5 separate regions of the Homo sapiens genome follow, and regions 1, 2, 3 and 4 are each linked to region 5. The links are contacts of gene promoters, found by promoter capture Hi-C in human tissues and cell types (Jung and others, 2019). All regions are on one chromosome and are shown on one strand. Each heading gives the region's core, a stretch centred on a gene start or on the middle of the fragment in contact. The rest is flanking DNA. Distances are from core to core; before and after follow the strand shown. Region 1 overlaps SETD2 (SET domain containing 2, histone lysine methyltransferase). Region 2 overlaps SETD2 (SET domain containing 2, histone lysine methyltransferase). Region 3 overlaps MAP4 (microtubule associated protein 4). Region 4 overlaps KIF9-AS1 (KIF9 antisense RNA 1). Region 5 holds the start of ELP6 (elongator acetyltransferase complex subunit 6).

Evidence for each region. Contacts are between HindIII fragments. The study calls those that stand out against the background at their distance.
Region 1: a fragment that was not itself captured here is called in contact with the fragment with the promoter of ELP6 in region 5 in 1 of the 25 tissues and cell types used here (aorta).
Region 2: a contact is called between a fragment that was not itself captured here and the fragment with the promoter of ELP6 in region 5, in 1 of the 25 tissues and cell types used here (adrenal gland).
Region 3: a fragment that was not itself captured here is called in contact with the fragment with the promoter of ELP6 in region 5 in 2 of the 25 tissues and cell types used here (dorsolateral prefrontal cortex and hippocampus).
Region 4: a fragment that was not itself captured here is called in contact with the fragment with the promoter of ELP6 in region 5 in 1 of the 25 tissues and cell types used here (dorsolateral prefrontal cortex).

The regions. Positions count from the first base shown.
Region 1 is chr3:47,066,083-47,069,270 of GRCh38, reverse strand. It overlaps SETD2 (SET domain containing 2, histone lysine methyltransferase), which reads left to right. Exons shown (of 21, transcript NM_014159.7): 13 at 2,153-2,201. Among named protein-coding and RNA genes, the nearest start is that of NBEAL2, 88 kb to the right of the region's middle. RefSeq lists an enhancer at 1,249-1,854. The HindIII fragment of the contact is 3,352 bases long and covers 1-3,064 here.
Region 2 is chr3:47,047,240-47,050,530 of GRCh38, reverse strand. The region is part of intron 15 of SETD2 (SET domain containing 2, histone lysine methyltransferase); the gene reads left to right. Among named protein-coding and RNA genes, the nearest start is that of NBEAL2, 69 kb to the right of the region's middle. The HindIII fragment of the contact is 6,243 bases long and covers 1-3,291 here.
Region 3 is chr3:47,992,335-47,995,550 of GRCh38, reverse strand. The region is part of intron 2 of MAP4 (microtubule associated protein 4); the gene reads left to right. Among named protein-coding and RNA genes, the nearest start is that of MAP4, 22 kb to the left of the region's middle. The HindIII fragment of the contact is 4,265 bases long and covers 1-3,216 here.
Region 4 is chr3:47,169,242-47,172,858 of GRCh38, reverse strand. KIF9-AS1 (KIF9 antisense RNA 1) reads right to left here. Exons shown (of 7, transcript NR_033373.1): 2 at 3,463-3,617. Among named protein-coding and RNA genes, the nearest start is that of KIF9-AS1, 6.7 kb to the right of the region's middle. The HindIII fragment of the contact is 5,548 bases long and covers 1-3,617 here.
Region 5 is chr3:47,512,406-47,515,670 of GRCh38, reverse strand. ELP6 (elongator acetyltransferase complex subunit 6) reads left to right here and starts at 1,959. Exons shown (of 7, transcript NM_001031703.3): 1 at 1,959-2,134. The coding sequence starts at 2,081. RefSeq lists enhancers at 1,995-2,104, 2,435-2,544. The HindIII fragment of the contact is 13,702 bases long and covers 1-3,265 here.

The DNA of each region.
Region 1 (3,188 bases), core at 139-2,638, 450 kb after region 5:
TGTCCTGTGTCATCTAATACAGAAGATAAAAGTGCTCTTGAGTTAGACTGTCTGGTAGCATCATAACCTTGGGTAGATTGCTAAGCTTTTTAAGTAAGTTTCCTTTTTGGAAAATTGAGGTAATAGTACTTACCTCATAGGGTCGTTTTGAAGCTCAAATAAGATAATGTATTTGAAGGGCCGGGTGCGGTGGCTCACATCTGTAATCCCAGAACTTTGGGAGGCCAAGGTGGGCAGATCATGAGGTCAGGAGTTCGAGACCAGTCTGGCCAACATGATGAAACCCCATCTCTACTAAAAATACAAAAATTAGCCAAGCATGGTGGCATGCACCTGTAATCCCAGTTACTGGGGAGGCTAAGGAGAATCGCTTGAACCTGGGAGGTGGAGGTTGCAATGAGCTGAGATCGCACCACTGCACTCCAGCCTGTGCGACAGAGACCCCGGTTCAAAAAACAAAACAAAACAAAAAGATAGGCCGGGCGCAGTGGCTTACGCCTGTAATCCTAGCACTTTGGGAGGCCAGGGTGGGAAGATCATGAGATCAGGAGTTCGAGACCAACCTGGCTAACATGGTGAAACCCTGTCTTTACTAAAAATACAAAAATTAGCTGGGCATGGTGGTGTGTGCCTATAATCCCTGCTACTCAGGAGGCTGAGGCAGGAGAATTGCTTGAACCCAGGAGGCAGAGGTTGCAGTAAGCTGAGATTGTGCCGCTTTACCCCAGCCTGGATGACAGAGCAAGACTCCGTCTCAAAAAAAAAAAAAAAAAAAAAGATAGTGTATTTGAAATGTTCAGCATGATATCTGGCACACAGTATAAGTGCACAATTAATTATAATCATCTTTATTAATTTGTCAGCATGCATATAGTATTGGAGGTTTAAAAAAATTTTTCATTTATATAGATTTCCCTGGATCTGTGCAGTCCATATTGATCCTTTTTAATGGCAACTGAATATTACATCATGACCTTTCCTCAGTTGTGTGACATGTGGCTTATTATTTTTCACAAATATTGTGAGAAGCAACAATTGTGGAGAGGAGGCCACAGGTGTGGTTAATATTATGAGATTCCTCTGAAGGGATGATATCACCTTATGTACTATTGAGAGTGTGTAGGCTTGTTACTGTCCCACTTAAGATGACTGGATAAGAAAGTATTGTGCCCAATAGTTACTCGATGGACGGTGGAATAGTGAAGAGCTGTTAAAGAACAAAATAGGTTCTAGGCCTTAGATAACACAAGAAAAGGTACTTAAAAGCCTTTAAAACAGTTCACATTTCTCAGGATCAATTTTGGTACAGTGATCAAGAGGAGCAGTGATCTAATGCTTATCCTTTATATTTTTTATTTTTTATAACAAACACAATGTGAAAGTAGATATTACATTGGCCATTAGTCATGTTGGTTTTGCATTTATAGAAAAATACACTGAATAGTAGGAATTGTCTTTACACATACAATTTTTCTGAAGTGTTTTTATATAACTGGGTAGTTATTAACCTTTTCTTTCTCTAAGTAGAGATGGCAAGTGCACATTAGAATTATGAATACTTGGCCAGGCATGGTGGCTCACGCCTGTAATCCCAGCACTTTGGGAGGCTGAGTAGATTGCTTGAGCCCAGGAGTTCGAGACCAGCCTGGGCAATGTGATAAAACCCCATCTCTACAAAAATAGAAAAAATTAGCGGGGCATGGTGGCATCCACCTGTGGTCCCAGCTACTTGGGAGGCTGGGGCAGAAGGATTGCTTGTGCCTGGGAGGCAGAGGTTGCAGTGAGCCGAGATCATGCCACTGCCCTTCAGCCTGGGTGACAGAGCAAGACCTTGTCTCAAAAAAAAAAAAAAAAAAAAAAAAAAGATGCTCAGGAAGCGTATCCTTGCCCAGTCATTTAGTATGCTGCTTTGCTAGTGAGATCGTACAAGCTTGATAGATGTAAATATATGTATTTCTGCTATATATTTTTTCTTGTTTTTAAGGGGCCAGGATATATTCTTATTTAAAGCCCAGATATAAGTCAAATTTTAGAGAATAAGTACCAGCTTGTTACTTTCCATTTCTTTATTGTCATGTGAAAACAGTCAGTTTCAAAGCAATCACCATTTCCACCCTCACTAATAACCCTCCCTCTGGTTTATTTTTTGCAGGAGGTATATCGAATTCCAAAGAAAAGTCAAACTGAAAAGGAAAACACAAGTAGGTATTCAGAGATACTCTGTGTTGATGGCTTTACAAATATTCTTTTGTTATGTGCAGAGGTAACTGATAAGAACTTAAGCGTTTTTGTTTTTGAAACTAGAGAATATATAACTAGGTAAATGAAATATTTGGTGTAAAAGTTTGGAAACTTGTGCTTTTATTCTTAATGCATTTTGCCAAAGGAAATGTCTCTTACACTGTTTTGTTGTCGCTTTCCTTGAACTCAGTCTTTACTAGCTTTTTTTCTATTCGTTTGTCCTCTAGAGCAGACATTCTTTATTTTTTTTATTTAGTCTTTTTTTCTTTTATTATTGTGATTTTGATTTTTTTTTTCCTTCGCACCAGATAGAGCAGACATTCTTAAACCTATACTTCTAGATGTCTTTGGGAGGGTCTTTACCTCAAGATATTTATATGCAGCTGGGCAGGGTGGCTCACACCTGTAATCCTAGCACTTTGGGAAGTTGAAGCAGGTGGATTGCTTGAGCCCAAGAGTTTGAGACCAGCCTGGGAAACATGGTGAAACCCTGTCTCTACAAAAAATACAAAAATATTAGCTAAGTGTGGTGGTGTGTGCCTATAATCCTAATTACCAGGAGGCTGAGGTAGGAGGATCACCTGAGCCTAGGAGATTGAGGCTGCAGTGAGCCATGATCGTGCCACTGTACTCCAGCCTGAGCAACAAAGTGAGGCCCTGTCTCTAAAAGGAAAAAAGATGTTTACATGTAAAATTCTGTATGTACACAGTTGACCCTTGAACAACATAGGAGATACAGATACCCTGTGCGTCGAAATTCCACATAACTTTTGACTCCTCATATTATGTATGTTATGTGTATTATGTAACTGTATTCTTAAAATAAAGTAAGCTAGATAAAAATGTTATTAAGAAAATCATAAGAGAAAATATATTTACTCTTCATTAAGTGGAAATAGATCATCATAGAGGTCTTCATCCTTATCTTCACCTTGAGCAGACTGACG
Region 2 (3,291 bases), core at 479-2,978, 460 kb after region 5:
TTTCATATTTTGTAGCATTTGGGATTTCTGATTAGGGAAATCAGAAATGTTTATGCTCAGCCTGTACATAAATACAATCATGTGCCATGCAATGGCGTTTTGGTCAACAACAGATGGCATTTATGACAGTGATCCTCGTAAGATTATTATGGAGGTGAAAAATTCTTCTGGCCTTCTGACATCTTGATGATCCTGACTCCGTGTAAGCCTAGGCTAGTGTGTGTGTTTATATCTTAGTTTTTGTTTTTTTATGTTGATACATAATAGGTGTACATATTTTCAGGGTACATGTGATAATTTAATATATTCATATAATTTGTAAAAATCAGTGTATTGAGATATCCATCACCATAAATATTTGTCTTTTCTTTATGCTAGAAACATTCAATTATTCTCTTCTAGCTATTTTGAAATATACAATAAGATTATTCTAAAATATAGATACCTTACTGATCTATGAAATACTTGGTCATGTTTCCTCTATCAAAATGTATGTTTTTCCCATATATATATATGTTTATATATATAAGAAACATAAATTTATATATATAAGAAAAACATATAAATATATGTACAAATATATAAACTTATAGAATAAGTTTATATATAATATATAAATTCAGAATAAGTTTATATATATAATATATACTATAAACTCAGAATAAATTTATATATTATATATAATATAAACTCAGAATAAGTTTATATATATAATATATATAATATAAACTCAGAATAAGTTTATATATAATAATATAAACTCATAGAATAAGTTTATATATATAATATATAATATAAACTCAGAATAAGTTTATATATTTAATATATAATATAAACTCATAGAATAAGTTTATATATAGGCCAGGCGCGGTGGCTCACACCTGTAATCCCAGCACTTTGGGAGGCTGAGGCGGGCGGATCACAAGGTCAGGAGATCGAGGCCATCCTGGCTAACAAGGTGAAACCCCATCTCTACTAAAAATACAAAAAATTAGCCAGGTGTGGTGGTGGGCACCTGTAGTCCCAGCTACTCGGGAGGCTGAGGCAGGAGAATGGCGTGAACCCGGGAGGCGGAGCTTGCAGTGAGCCGAGGTCGTGCCACTGCACTCCAGCCTGGGCGACAGAGCCAGACTCTGTCTCAAAAAAAAAAAAAAAAGAATAAGTTTATATATATAAGAATACATATATATATATATATATATATATATATATATATATATATATATTTAGAAAACTTATTCTATAAAAAACTTATAGAATAAGAATAAGGATATAAAAAAAATATTTGGCCCAGTGTGTTGTCTCACATCTGTAATCCCAGCAATCTGGGAGGCCAAGGCAGGAGAATCACTCAAACACAAGAGTTCAAGACTAGCCTAGACAACATAGCGAAACCCTGTCTCTACAAATTTGTTTTTAATTAGCTGGGCGTGGTGGCACATACTCGGGAGGCTGAGATGGGAGGATTGCTTCAGTCCAGGAGTTCAAGGCTACAGTAAGCTATGATCACACTACTGCATTCCAGCCTGGGTGACAGAATGAGACTCTTTTTTAAAAAAAATATAGGCCAGGCACGGTGGCTCACACCTGTAATCCCAGCACTTTGGGAGGCTGAGGTGGGCAGATCACAAGGTTAGGAGATGGAGACCATCCTGGCCAACATGGTGAAACCCCGTCTCTGCTAAAATAAAAAAAATTAGCCAGGCGTGGTGGCACGCACCTGTAGTCCCAGGTACTCGGGAGGCTGAGGCAGGAGAATTGCTTGAACCCGGGAGGTGGAGGTTGCAGTGAGCCCAGATCGCACCACTGCTCTCCACCCTGGCGAGGAGGAGGGAGGAGGGTTGTTTATACAGCTGTAGAATGTGTTTGTATTTTAAGATAAGTGTTATAAAAGAGTTAAAAAGTTGAAAAAATTTGTTTATAAAGTAAAAAAGTTATAGTAAGTTACAGTTAATTTATTAAAAAAATGTTAATAAACTTAGTGTAGCCCAAGTGTTTATAGTCTACAGTAGTGTACAGTAATGTCCTAGGCCTTCATATTCACTCACTCACCACTCACTTACTCAAAGCAACTTCCAGTCCTGCAAGCTTTGTTTATAGTTAGTTCCCTATACAGGTGTACCATTTAAATTTTGTTTTTTTGAGACGGCATCTCGCTCTGTTGCCCAGGCTGGAGTGCAGTGGTGCCATCTCGGTTCACTGCAACCTCTACCTCCTGGGTTCAAGCGATTCTTCTGCCTCAGCCTCCTGAGTGGCTGGGACTACAGGTGCATGCCACCATGCCTGGCTAATTTTTTGTATTTTTAGTAGAGATGGGATTTCACCGTGTTAGCCAGGATGGTCTCGATCTCCTGACCTCGTGATCCGCCCACTTTGGCCTCCCAAAGTGCTCGGGTTGCAGGTGTGAGCCACCGTGCCCCGGCCTAAAAAATTTTTATACTGTATTTTTACTGTAACTTTTCCATGTTTAGATACACAGATACTGTTAAGTTATAGTTGCTTACAAGTCTTTATTACAGAAACATGCTGTACAGGTTTGTAGCCTAGGAACAACAGACTATACCATATAGCCTAGGTATCTAATAGATTTGTGAAGTACACTGTATGATGTGTAAGTACCTCATACACTTAGTAGGTTTGTGAAAGTACATTATATGATGTTACCACAACAATGAAATCTCCTAACAATGCATTTCTCAGAATGTACCCCCCTTGTTAAGCAATACATGACTGTACATTTTCCTCTCAGGCTTTGTGATACTATTCTGATGGTAATTCTGCCTTAACAATTAATGTTTTTCAGTCTGGTTTATTATCCAAGTAGATTAAGCTGATCCAGAATACCAAATTAAGTGTTCTTTTCCTTTTTCCTGTGTCCTGTCAGTAATTATTCATTCAGAAACCTGCTAGATAGCTGCATTGCCTATTCAGACTACTTGAGTTTTTACTGGTGTCATTTGGAATTATATTTTGTATTTTGAGTACTTAGCATTTGATGTTTCTGTAATCATTTTACCTGCTAGAATCTCAGTCCATAGGAGCAAAATCTCTCCTTAAGCACAGGATACATGTCTATTCAATTCCTTAACAGTCACCACCTCTTAGGACAGCAAGGCTATTTTTCAGTCTTCTTATCACCTCTTCTTATTTAAGCAGATTTTCTATGCTTGAGAAATAATTACAGAGTAGGTTTAAGCCCTAGCATAGTACTTATTTCTTATGAAACTCCAGGCATGGGCAGTACCTGGTTTTGATGGTGGTCAGCACTAAATGAGATGATGTATGTTAAGG
Region 3 (3,216 bases), core at 379-2,878, 480 kb before region 5:
GACCAGGTGCAGTGGCTCACGCCTGTAATCCCAGCACTTTGGGAGACCAAGGCAGGTGGCTCACCTGAGGTCAGGAGTTTGAGACCAGCCTGGCCAACATGGTGAAACCATACCTCTACTAAAAATACAAAAATTAGCCAGGGGTAATGGTGTGCACCTGTAATCCCAGGTACTCAGGAGGCTGAGGTACAAGAATCACTTGAACCTGGGAGGCGGAGGTGGCAGTGAGTGGAGAGCGTGCCACTGCACTCCAGCCTGGGCGAGAGAACGAGACTCTGTCTCAAAAAAAAAAAAAAAAAAGAAAAGAAAAAAAGTTGCTATCATTGCTTACAAAAGTATCTTGATGTTGCAAAAGCTTATGTTGAGAAGTAAAGTTCATATTTTATTTTTATCCTTTAATTCAATTTTCCAGAAACTCATACATTTTTTGAACAGGCTAAAAAATACACATGTACAAAATCCAATTGGTCCAAAGGGATGTACGGTAAAACAAATTCTCCCAATCCCTACACCCTAGCCAGACAGTTCTCCTTCCTGGAGTAACCACTCGCCAATTTCTGGAGTAGTCTTTCTGAGTTAATGAACTTTTTTTTTTTTTTTTTGAGATGGAGTCCCGCTCTATTGCACAGGCTGGAGTGCAGTGGCACGATCTCTGCTCACTGCATCCTCCGCCTCCCAGGTTCAAGCGATCCTCCTGCCTCAACACCCCAGTAGCTGGGATTACAGGCCTGCACCACCATGCCTGGCTAATTTTTGTATTTTTAGTAGAGATGGGGTTTCGCCCTGTTGGCCAGGCTGGTCTCAAACTCCTGACCTCAGGTGATCCACTTGCCTTGGCCTCCCAAAGTGCTGGGATTACAGGCATGAGCCACCATTTACATATCAAAAGTAGCAGGGAGGATTTAATTTTTTATAAATAAAATAATGTCTTAAAAACTTTCCTCCTCTTGGGCCAAGTTAATGTTACATGGATCAAATAACTCAAGATGAAGCACAAGAAAATCTACTGCTACCACCTCACTGTCCTTATCCACCTAGGCTCATTCCCAGATGATGGAAACAATGCACAGTTAAAGGAAATTAGAAAACGAAAAGCAGCTAGCTTCTTTCACCTATGACTGATGAGGGTAAGTTAATATTAGGATGGGAAGAGCATCTCAACCATGACTAGTTGCTACCATATTTACATCTTATCATTCCTTTCTTCATACTAGGTTTTCTTTGTTTATGTTAGTCAGTCAAAGAACAAATGTCTCCACCGTGCATTATGGATTAAGAGAGAATAGATTTTCCCGTTTTCCATTAAGGAATCCAAATTTTTTGGAGTAAATATTTGTTTTTCTTTTGTGCTGGGATTATAGGTGTGAGCCACTGTGCCTGGCTTTTTTACATTATTAAATGAAGAAAAATGAAGAAATGAAGAAAAATGGATGCCCTTTAAAGTTTTTTTTGGTTTAAGTTTTTAATTTTTTGTTGCTACCAAAGATTTTTTTAAAGATTAGGAAACAAAAAAGAAGGAACCAAATCAGGACTGTTGTAAGGTGGTTGCCTAATGATTTCTCATCAAAACTGTCACAAATTATCTTTGTTGATGAAAGGAATGAACAGGAGCATTGTCCTGGTGGAGAAGGACTCTCTGATGAAGCTTTCCTGGCTGTTTTTCTGCTAAAGCATTGGCTGACTTTCTCAAAACACCCTCATAATAAGATGTTGTCATTCTTTGGCTCTCCAGAAAGTCAACAGACAAAGTGCTTTGAGCATCCTAAAAAACTCTTGTGTTTGCTCTTGACTGATCCACTTTTGCTTTGACTACAGCACTTACGCCTCTTGGTAGCCATTGCTTTGATTGTGCTTTGTCTTTAGGATTATACTGGTAAAACCATATTTCATCTCCTGTTACAATTCTTCAAAGAAATGCTTCAGGATCTTGATCCCACTTGTTTAAAATTTACATCGAAAGCTCTGCTCTTTGCAGCTCATCTGGATGCAACCATTTTGGCACCAGTTGAGTGGAAAGTTTGCTCAATTTTAATTTATCAGCCAAAATTGTATAAACTGAACCAATTGAGATGTCTGTGGTATTGGCTATTGTTTCTGCTAATTGTCAATCCTCTTCAATTAGATCATTCTTTTTTCCTCTCAAATTGATATTGGTGGTCTGCCACGGTGGGCTTCATCTTCAACATCATCTCCTCCTTTATTTTTTTTCTTTTTTTGAGACAGAGTCTTACTACATTGCCCAAATTAGAGTATAGTGACTATTTACAGGTGTAACCATAGCACACTACAGCCTTGAACTCCTGGGCTCAAGTGATCCTCCTGTCTCAGCCTTCCAAGTAGCTGGGACTATAGGTGCGGACCACTGCATCTGGCTGATGTCTTAAAACAAGTTATTCATGTGTAAACTACTGATTTGTTTGGGGCATTGTCCCCATAAACTTTACACAAAGCATCAGTGATTTCACCATTCTTTCATCCAAGCTTCACCATAAATTTACCATTTGCTTTTGCTTCAATTTTAGCAGAATTCATGTTGCTTTATTAGGGGCTCTTTTCAAACTGATGTTTTATCCTTTTTAGTGCTTCAAACTAGATCCTGTTCAGACGTGTTATAACAAGTTAGTATGAGCTTTTTTTTTTTTTTTTTAAGATGGAGTGTCTCTCTGTCACCCAGGCTGGAGTGCGGTGGCACAGTCTCGGCTCACTGCAACCTCTACCTCCTGTGTTCAAGAGATTCTCCTGCCTCAGCCTCCTGAGTAGCTGGGCTTATAGGCACATGCTACCATGCCCAGCTAATTTTTGTATTTTTAGTAGAGATGGGGTTTCGCCATATTGGTCAGGCTGGAGTATGAGTTATTTTGATACAAAAAAACTCCCTTGAAATCCATGAATAATTTTTTCATAGAATGCATTTTCCACGAACTTGTTGAAGATACCATGTTTAAAGTTTATAATTATAGCTGGGCGTGGTAGTGTGCGCCTGTAGTCCGAGCTACACAGGAAGCTGAGGTAGGAGGCAATCACTTGAGCCCCAGAGGTCGAGGCTGCAGTGAGCCATAAAAGCACCACTGTGCTGCAGCCTGGGTGACAGAGAGAGACCCCGTCTCTAAAAATAATAATAATAATAAAGTTTATAATTATGATAGGTTGTAAATTACTACATTTTTTCCATACCAGCTTCCTAAAAGTTGTAGAAGTCTTAACTTAAAGGAAGGG
Region 4 (3,617 bases), core at 996-3,495, 340 kb after region 5:
TTTGTACATTTAGTCTATGTACGAGTGCTTTTATTTCCGTGAACCAAAATTTTAGAAATAGAATTTGCTGGGTCAAAGGACGCACACACATAGTTGTTACGGAATAATAAATAGATATAAATAACATTCATTACATCTAGTGTAGACAAAATAACAAAACAAATATCTGTCCACTTACTAACTAGTTTAAGAAATACAAATTTACCTGTGCTCTGAGGCCTCCTGGGTGTCCCCTATATAATCCCTTTTCCTGTTCAGAAAGGAAAACCAAACCAAACCAAAACTATCCTAAAATTTTTCTTTACCTTTCTCTTGGTTATAGTTTTACCATATTTCTCAACACCATCTGTTGTTTAATTTTGACTCTTAAAACTTTACATAAATGGAAAAACATTCTATGCCTTTTATTTCCTGTTCATTATTATGTCCCCAAGACTTTACCATTTTGGTAGGCATAGCTGAAAATTTCAGTTATGGCCAGGCTTGGTGGCACATGCTTGTAATCCCAATGCTTTGGGACACCAGTGTGGGAAGATCACTTGAGGCCAGGAGTTCAAGACCAACCTGGGCAACATAGCGAGACCCTGTTTCTAAAAAAACTAAAAAACAATTATACATCAGCACCATAAGACAGGGGAAAAAAAAATCCAGGCATGGTGGAGTACACCTGTGGTCCCAGCTACTTGGGTGACTGAGGTGGGAAGATCGCTTGAGCCCAAGTGTTTGAGGTGATACTCCTGCCTCAGCAACAAATGCAAAACCCTGCCTTTTAAGCTGTTTAATAGTAGTTCATTATATATACTATAGTTGATAGACATTTGCCCATTTGCCAATACTGCTACAGACATTCCTAGACATGTCTTTTGGTGTATATTTGCAAGAGTTTTAATTTGTATATCTAAGAACAATTGTTGGGTTTTAAGATATGCCCATATGCAACTCTACTAGGTAATGCCAACCAACTTGTTTTCCAAAATGATTGTATCAATTAACACTCTGACCAGCACCCTGATTTCCCTGAAACAGCTTTTCAAATGTTTCCTGGACATTAATTTTTCCTCTTCTGAGGTATTTACCAATTTAAAAAGCTGGGTTGTCTTTCTCTTATTCACTTACATTAGTTCTATATATATCCTAGATCAGTGCTGTCCAAGAGAAATAAAATGGAAGTCACAAATGTGATTTTAAATTTTCTAGAAGCCACATAAAGAGGTGAAATGGTTTTTTGTTGAGACAGGATCTTGCTCTGTTGCCCAGGCTGGAGCGCAGTGGCATAATCTCAGCTCACTGCAAACTCTGCCTCCCAGGTTCAAGCGATTCTCATGCTTCAGCCTCCCAAATAGCTGGGACTACAGGTGCATGCAACCATGCCTAGCTAATTTTTGTATTTTTAGTAGAGAAGGGGTTTCACCATGCTGGCCAGGCTGATCTCGAACTCCTGACTTCAAGTAATCCGCCCACCTCAGCCTCCCAAAGTGCTAGGATTATAGGTGTGAGACACCATGCCTGGCCTTTTTTTTTTAAAAGAGACAGTCTTGCTTTGTGATCTAGGCTGGTGTACAGTGGCAAGATCATTGCTCACCGTAACTTTGAACTCCTGGGCTCAAGAGATCCTCCCACTTCAGCCTCCTGACTAGCTGGGACCACAGGCATGTGCCATGATGTCTGGCTAATTTTTTTGAGATGGAGTCTTGCTCTGGCTGGAGTGCAGTGGCGTGATCTCGGCTCACTGCAACCTCCGTCTCCTGAGTTCAAGTGATTCTCCTGCCTCAACCTCCTAAGTAGCTGGGATTACAGGCACATGCCAGCATGCCCGGGTAATTTTTGTATTTTTAGTAGAGATGGGGTTTTGCCATGTTGGGCAGGCTGGTCTTGAACTCTTGACCTCAGGTGATCTGCCCATCTCAGCCTCCCAAAGTGCTAGGATTACAGGTGTGAGCCACCGCACCCAGCCAATTTTTTTGTATTTTAGGTAGAGATGGGGTTTCATCATGTTGTCCAGGGTGGTCTTGAGCCCCTTAGTTAAAGCAATTCACCTGCCTGAGCCTCCCAAAGTGCTGGGATTACAGGCGTGAGCCACCATACCTGGCCTAAGTTTTATTTTCTTGTCCATTTTGCACTCTTTAAAACTGAAATGTATTCCCCCTGCCTCAGCCTCCCAAGTAGCTGGGACTATAGGTGTGCACCACCACAGCTGGCTAATCTCTTTTGTTTTTTGTAGAGCTGGGAGGGAGTCTGGCTATGTTGCACAGGCTGGTCTTAAACTCCTGGTCTCAAGCAATCCTTCCGCCTCAGCATCTCAAAGTGCTGGGATTACAGGCGTGAGCCACCATGCTCGGCCTTTTTTTTTGTATTTTTCTTTATTCTATTTTCTTCTGTTAATTTGGAAAAGCAGTTACCCTACATATTTTATCTTATACACTTAAAAGAGTAAAGGTTAAAGTTAATCAATATTTTTACCCACTTCCCAAACAATACCAGGACCTTGGAAAACTTCAACTCCAACCATCACTCCACTCATCCTGCTTCTAAATATATGACTTTGTTGTCCAGAGTATCAGTTCCATCTTGCTTTACCTTATTAACCACACAAATTACTTACTATTACTTTGTATGGTAAAAAGTTTTTAGTTTTAACCACTTATTTACTAATATTTTTATCATTCCTTCTTGTATAAGGGATCATTTCTTTCTTTTTTATAAAATTATTTACTATGTAAAATTAAAAAAATTTTTTTTCAGCACCTGACACTCCCAGTGTGGGCTGAGATGCTGAGGCTAGGATCATTTCTTGTTGGTGGCAAACTCCAGATTTTTTTGTCTGAAAATGTCTTGAAACAGATAACCTGGCTGAAATCCTGGTTTTATCATTTCTTAGTCATGTGACTCTAGATATGCACCATAACCTCTGGAATCATTGGTTTATTCATCTGCAAAACTGGTAATCTTGAGTACATTCATTCTCTGCTGGGTAAGACAAGTTTGGGAGGGAAGATGCACTGAGAAGCTCCTGAGCAGATGAGTTCTCTAGAAGAACGCCAAGATCCAAAGCAAAACAGAATAAAAGATACACCATAATCACCTCTCTGAATGTTTGAAAACTGTAGGGAGGCTGGGCGCCGTGGCTCATGCCTGTAATCCCAGCACTTTGGGAGGCTGAGGCGGGTGGATCACAAGGTCAGGAGTTCAAGACCAGCCTGGCCAAGATGGTGAAACCCCGTCTCTACTAAAGATACAAAAAATTAGCTGGGTATGGTGGCGCGCGTCTGTAATCCCAGCTACTCAGGAGGCTGAGGCAGGAGAATCGCTTGAACCCAGGCAGTAGAGGTTGCAGTGAGCTGAGATTGTGCCACCGCACTCCAGCCTGGGCGACAGAGTGAGATTCCATCTCAAAAAAAAAAAAAAAAGAAAAAGAAAATTGTAGGGAAGACAAGGTTAACACATATTGAAAAAAAAAATTACCTAATAACAATATTCCTGTATACTTGAGAGTTACAGTGCATGGTTCTTTTTAGTCAGTCTTTTCAAATCCAGTGAAATAGCTGCTTGTAGGAGTTTACAAAAGAGACTTTACAGAAGAGAGTGCCTGACTGGAAGTAATCAACTTGTTAGCCAAC
Region 5 (3,265 bases), core at 710-3,209:
GTATCAGGCTAAAGAGATTGGTAAAGAAGTGGTACTCTTATTTGCTGGGAAATGAGATGTTTGGTTGTGGCTTGGACAATGTACATGTTTTGTGTTCAACATGATTATGGAGTGTTCTAGTTTTGTCTTGATCCGTCACAATCAGTCTGATGTTGGTGTTTTATGAAATTGTTTATGCTCAACAGGAACACCAAGACCTAGCTGTGAGTGTCAGGCCAATTTTTTTTTCTCTTTCTCACATTTCAATAAGCATGAAACATCTCATTCTTGGCTGAAGGATCTACATCCCTTTGACACAGAGAAGCAGCCTTGATTTCCATCCCAGGTGCAGAGCTTCAGCTAACGATTACATTCCACATCGATCTTAACCTTGTAGTTTCCACAGAAATGACCCTGGGTCCCCTTTGCAGTCCACGCCAGATTAGGACTCCACACACAGCTGTGCTGTGCTTTGAGCATATCAAACACCGGTTCACTTAAATTTCACCTGAATTCGACTCTTTCCCAAATCATATAACAATTATTTTAGTGACTGTCAATAAACTTGACTTTGGTGGAATTACAGGTTTGTCCACTGATCTGAGGCTGATTGGGCTAGAACAAAACTATATACGGTATAATAGATATAAATGTTATGGAAAAAAATAAAAGCAAGGAAAAAGAAGTGTTGGGAAAGGGACAGTTTGTGATTTAAGTAAGGTGCTCAGGGAAGGCCTCACGAATAAAGTGACATCGGAGCAGAGACCTGAAGGAAGTGGGGAATTTTAAAATCAGCTTAATATCTGGGAAAAGGGGCATTCCAGGAAGAGGGAAGAGTTAGTATAAAGGCTCTGAGGACAGGCATACAGGGCGTGTTGCAACCACACTGTTTTTTAACGAAGTCTCACACTGCTGCCCAGGCTAGAGAGCAATGGCGTGATCTCGGCTTACTGCAACCTCTGCCTCCCAGGTTCAAGCGATTCTACTGGCTCAGCCTCCCGAGTGGCTGGGATGACAGGCGCCCCCCACCACGCCAGGCTAATTTTTTGTATTTTTAATAGAGAAGGGGGTTTCACTATATTGGCCAGGCTAGTCTCGAACTCCTGACCTCGTGATCCCTCCGTCTAGGCCTCCCAAAGTGCTGGCATTACAGGTGTGAGCCACCGCGCCCAGCCGCAACCACACTTTCTTAGTGAGACCCACCCTGACAACCTCTTTAATTCTGGAACCTACCCCTGCCCCCATTGGTACTCTCTAATCCCACTTTGCTTTTCTCCACACAACTTTTCAAGATATAATTCCGTGTCGGCCGGGCGTGGTGGCTCATGCCTGTAATCCCAGCACTTTGGGAGGCCGAGGCCGGCGGATCACGAGGTCGGGAGATCAAGACCATCCTGGCTAACACGGTGAAACCCCGTCTCTACTAAAAATACAAAAAATTAGCCGGGCGTGGTGGCGGGCGCCTGTAGTCCCAGCTACACTCGGGAGGCTGAGGCAGGAGAATGGCGTGAACCCAGGAGGCGGAGACTGTAGTGAGCCGAGATCGCGCCACTGCACTCCAGCCTGGGCGACAGGGCAAGACTCCGTCTCAATTAAATAATAATAATAATAATAATAATAATAATAATAATAATAAATTCCCTGTCCTTTGTTTTTGTTCATCGATGTAGCCCAAGCTCCCAGGAGTGTGGGGCATACAGAAGGCGCTTGACAGCCACGTGTGGAGAAAAGGAGCCCGGGGCTGGGCAGAGAGCGAGGCCAAGGGAAGAAGAATACTCGGTCGCGTGGAGCCTTGGGGGCCCACTGGGAGGGCTCGGGCGCCACGCAGATCTGCGCGGAATGAGCCGCCAGAGGCCGCTGGCAGTCGCACAGAGAAGCCCATCGTTTCCTACCACCTGGGACTCGACGGACGTCTACGCGCGTGCGCAGCGGTCCCATCGAGGCACCCGCCTCATTGGCTGTGGCTGGCTCGCAAAAGTGGCATTGCGCATGCGCGCTTCCTTGCGCGAGCCGGGCTGTCGGGTGTGTTTTGCTCTCCAGCCTCCGTCGTCTCTGCAGCACTCCGGGTTCTCCTCCAGAGCGCTAGTCCCAGGAGCTCGGAATGTTCGTGGAACTTAATAACCTGCTTAACACCACCCCCGACAGGGCGGAGCAGGTAAGAGGTCCCGCTGGCCGGAAGGGGGCGGGACCTGGCAGGGCAGCGGAATACTGCATCCGGGAGGCGGTGCGCACGACCCCGGGGAATGGCGCGACGACCCGGCACGGGGTACCTGGGAGTTGTAGTCCGCAGAGGATCGACCCGGGGATTGGACTGGAGGCTTGGGCCCGCCGAAAGTGGGCTTCTGGGCCATCTCGCATATTCTCAACGGCTGTGCGTGTCCTTAAAAGTCCCTGGGAAGCGGCCGGGCGCGGTGGCTCACCCCTGTAATCCCAGCAGTTTGGGAGGCCGAGGCGGGTGCATCATCTAAGGTCAAGAGTTCGAGACAAGTCTGGCCAAGATGGTGAAACCCCCGTCTCTACGAAAAATACAAAAATTAGCCGGGCGTGGTGGCTCATGCCTGTAATCTCAGCTACTCGGGAGGCTGAGACAGGAGAATTGCTTGAACCCGGGAGGCGGAGGTTGCAGTGACCCGAGATCTCGCCACCGCACTCCAGCCTGGGCGACAGAGCGGGACTCCACCTCAAAAAAAAAAAAAAAAAGTACCTGGGAAGCATGGCCGACAGTGGGGTTGGGTTATATTCGCGGACGTGAACTGTGGCGCGCTGTGCATGTTCACTGGGGTGGGGGGTCCCAGGCGCTCAGAGGAGACTGCAGAATAGGCCCGAGAGGAGAGGGGAGTTCGTTTCGCCGCCGTCTTCATGGGCGAGCTTCCTAACCGCCACCTCGCCCCGGAGCAATTGGCACATTGTATTGAACGCTGCTGTTCTTCTTACTCTTCCTCCTTGTGATCTCTAATAGAACTGTTAGAAGCAGGACAGAGCCAAATTGGCTTGGACCAAGTCCGTCTTGGGCACCCCAGGCTGGCCTGTTCTCTCCACCCTCCTCACACTCCGGGGTACCTTGAAACCTTTCACATTTTAACGTAGGAGTAACCTCTTTCAGGAGTGTATCTTTTGGCTTATTTATTTATTTATTTATTTTTGATGGAGTCTCGCTCCCTCGCCTGGGCTGGAGTGCACTGGCGCGATCTCGGCTCCCTGCAACCTCACCTCCCGGGTTCAAGTGATTCTCCTTATTCAGCCTCCCAAGTAGCTGGGATTGCAGGCGTGCGCTACCACACCGGGC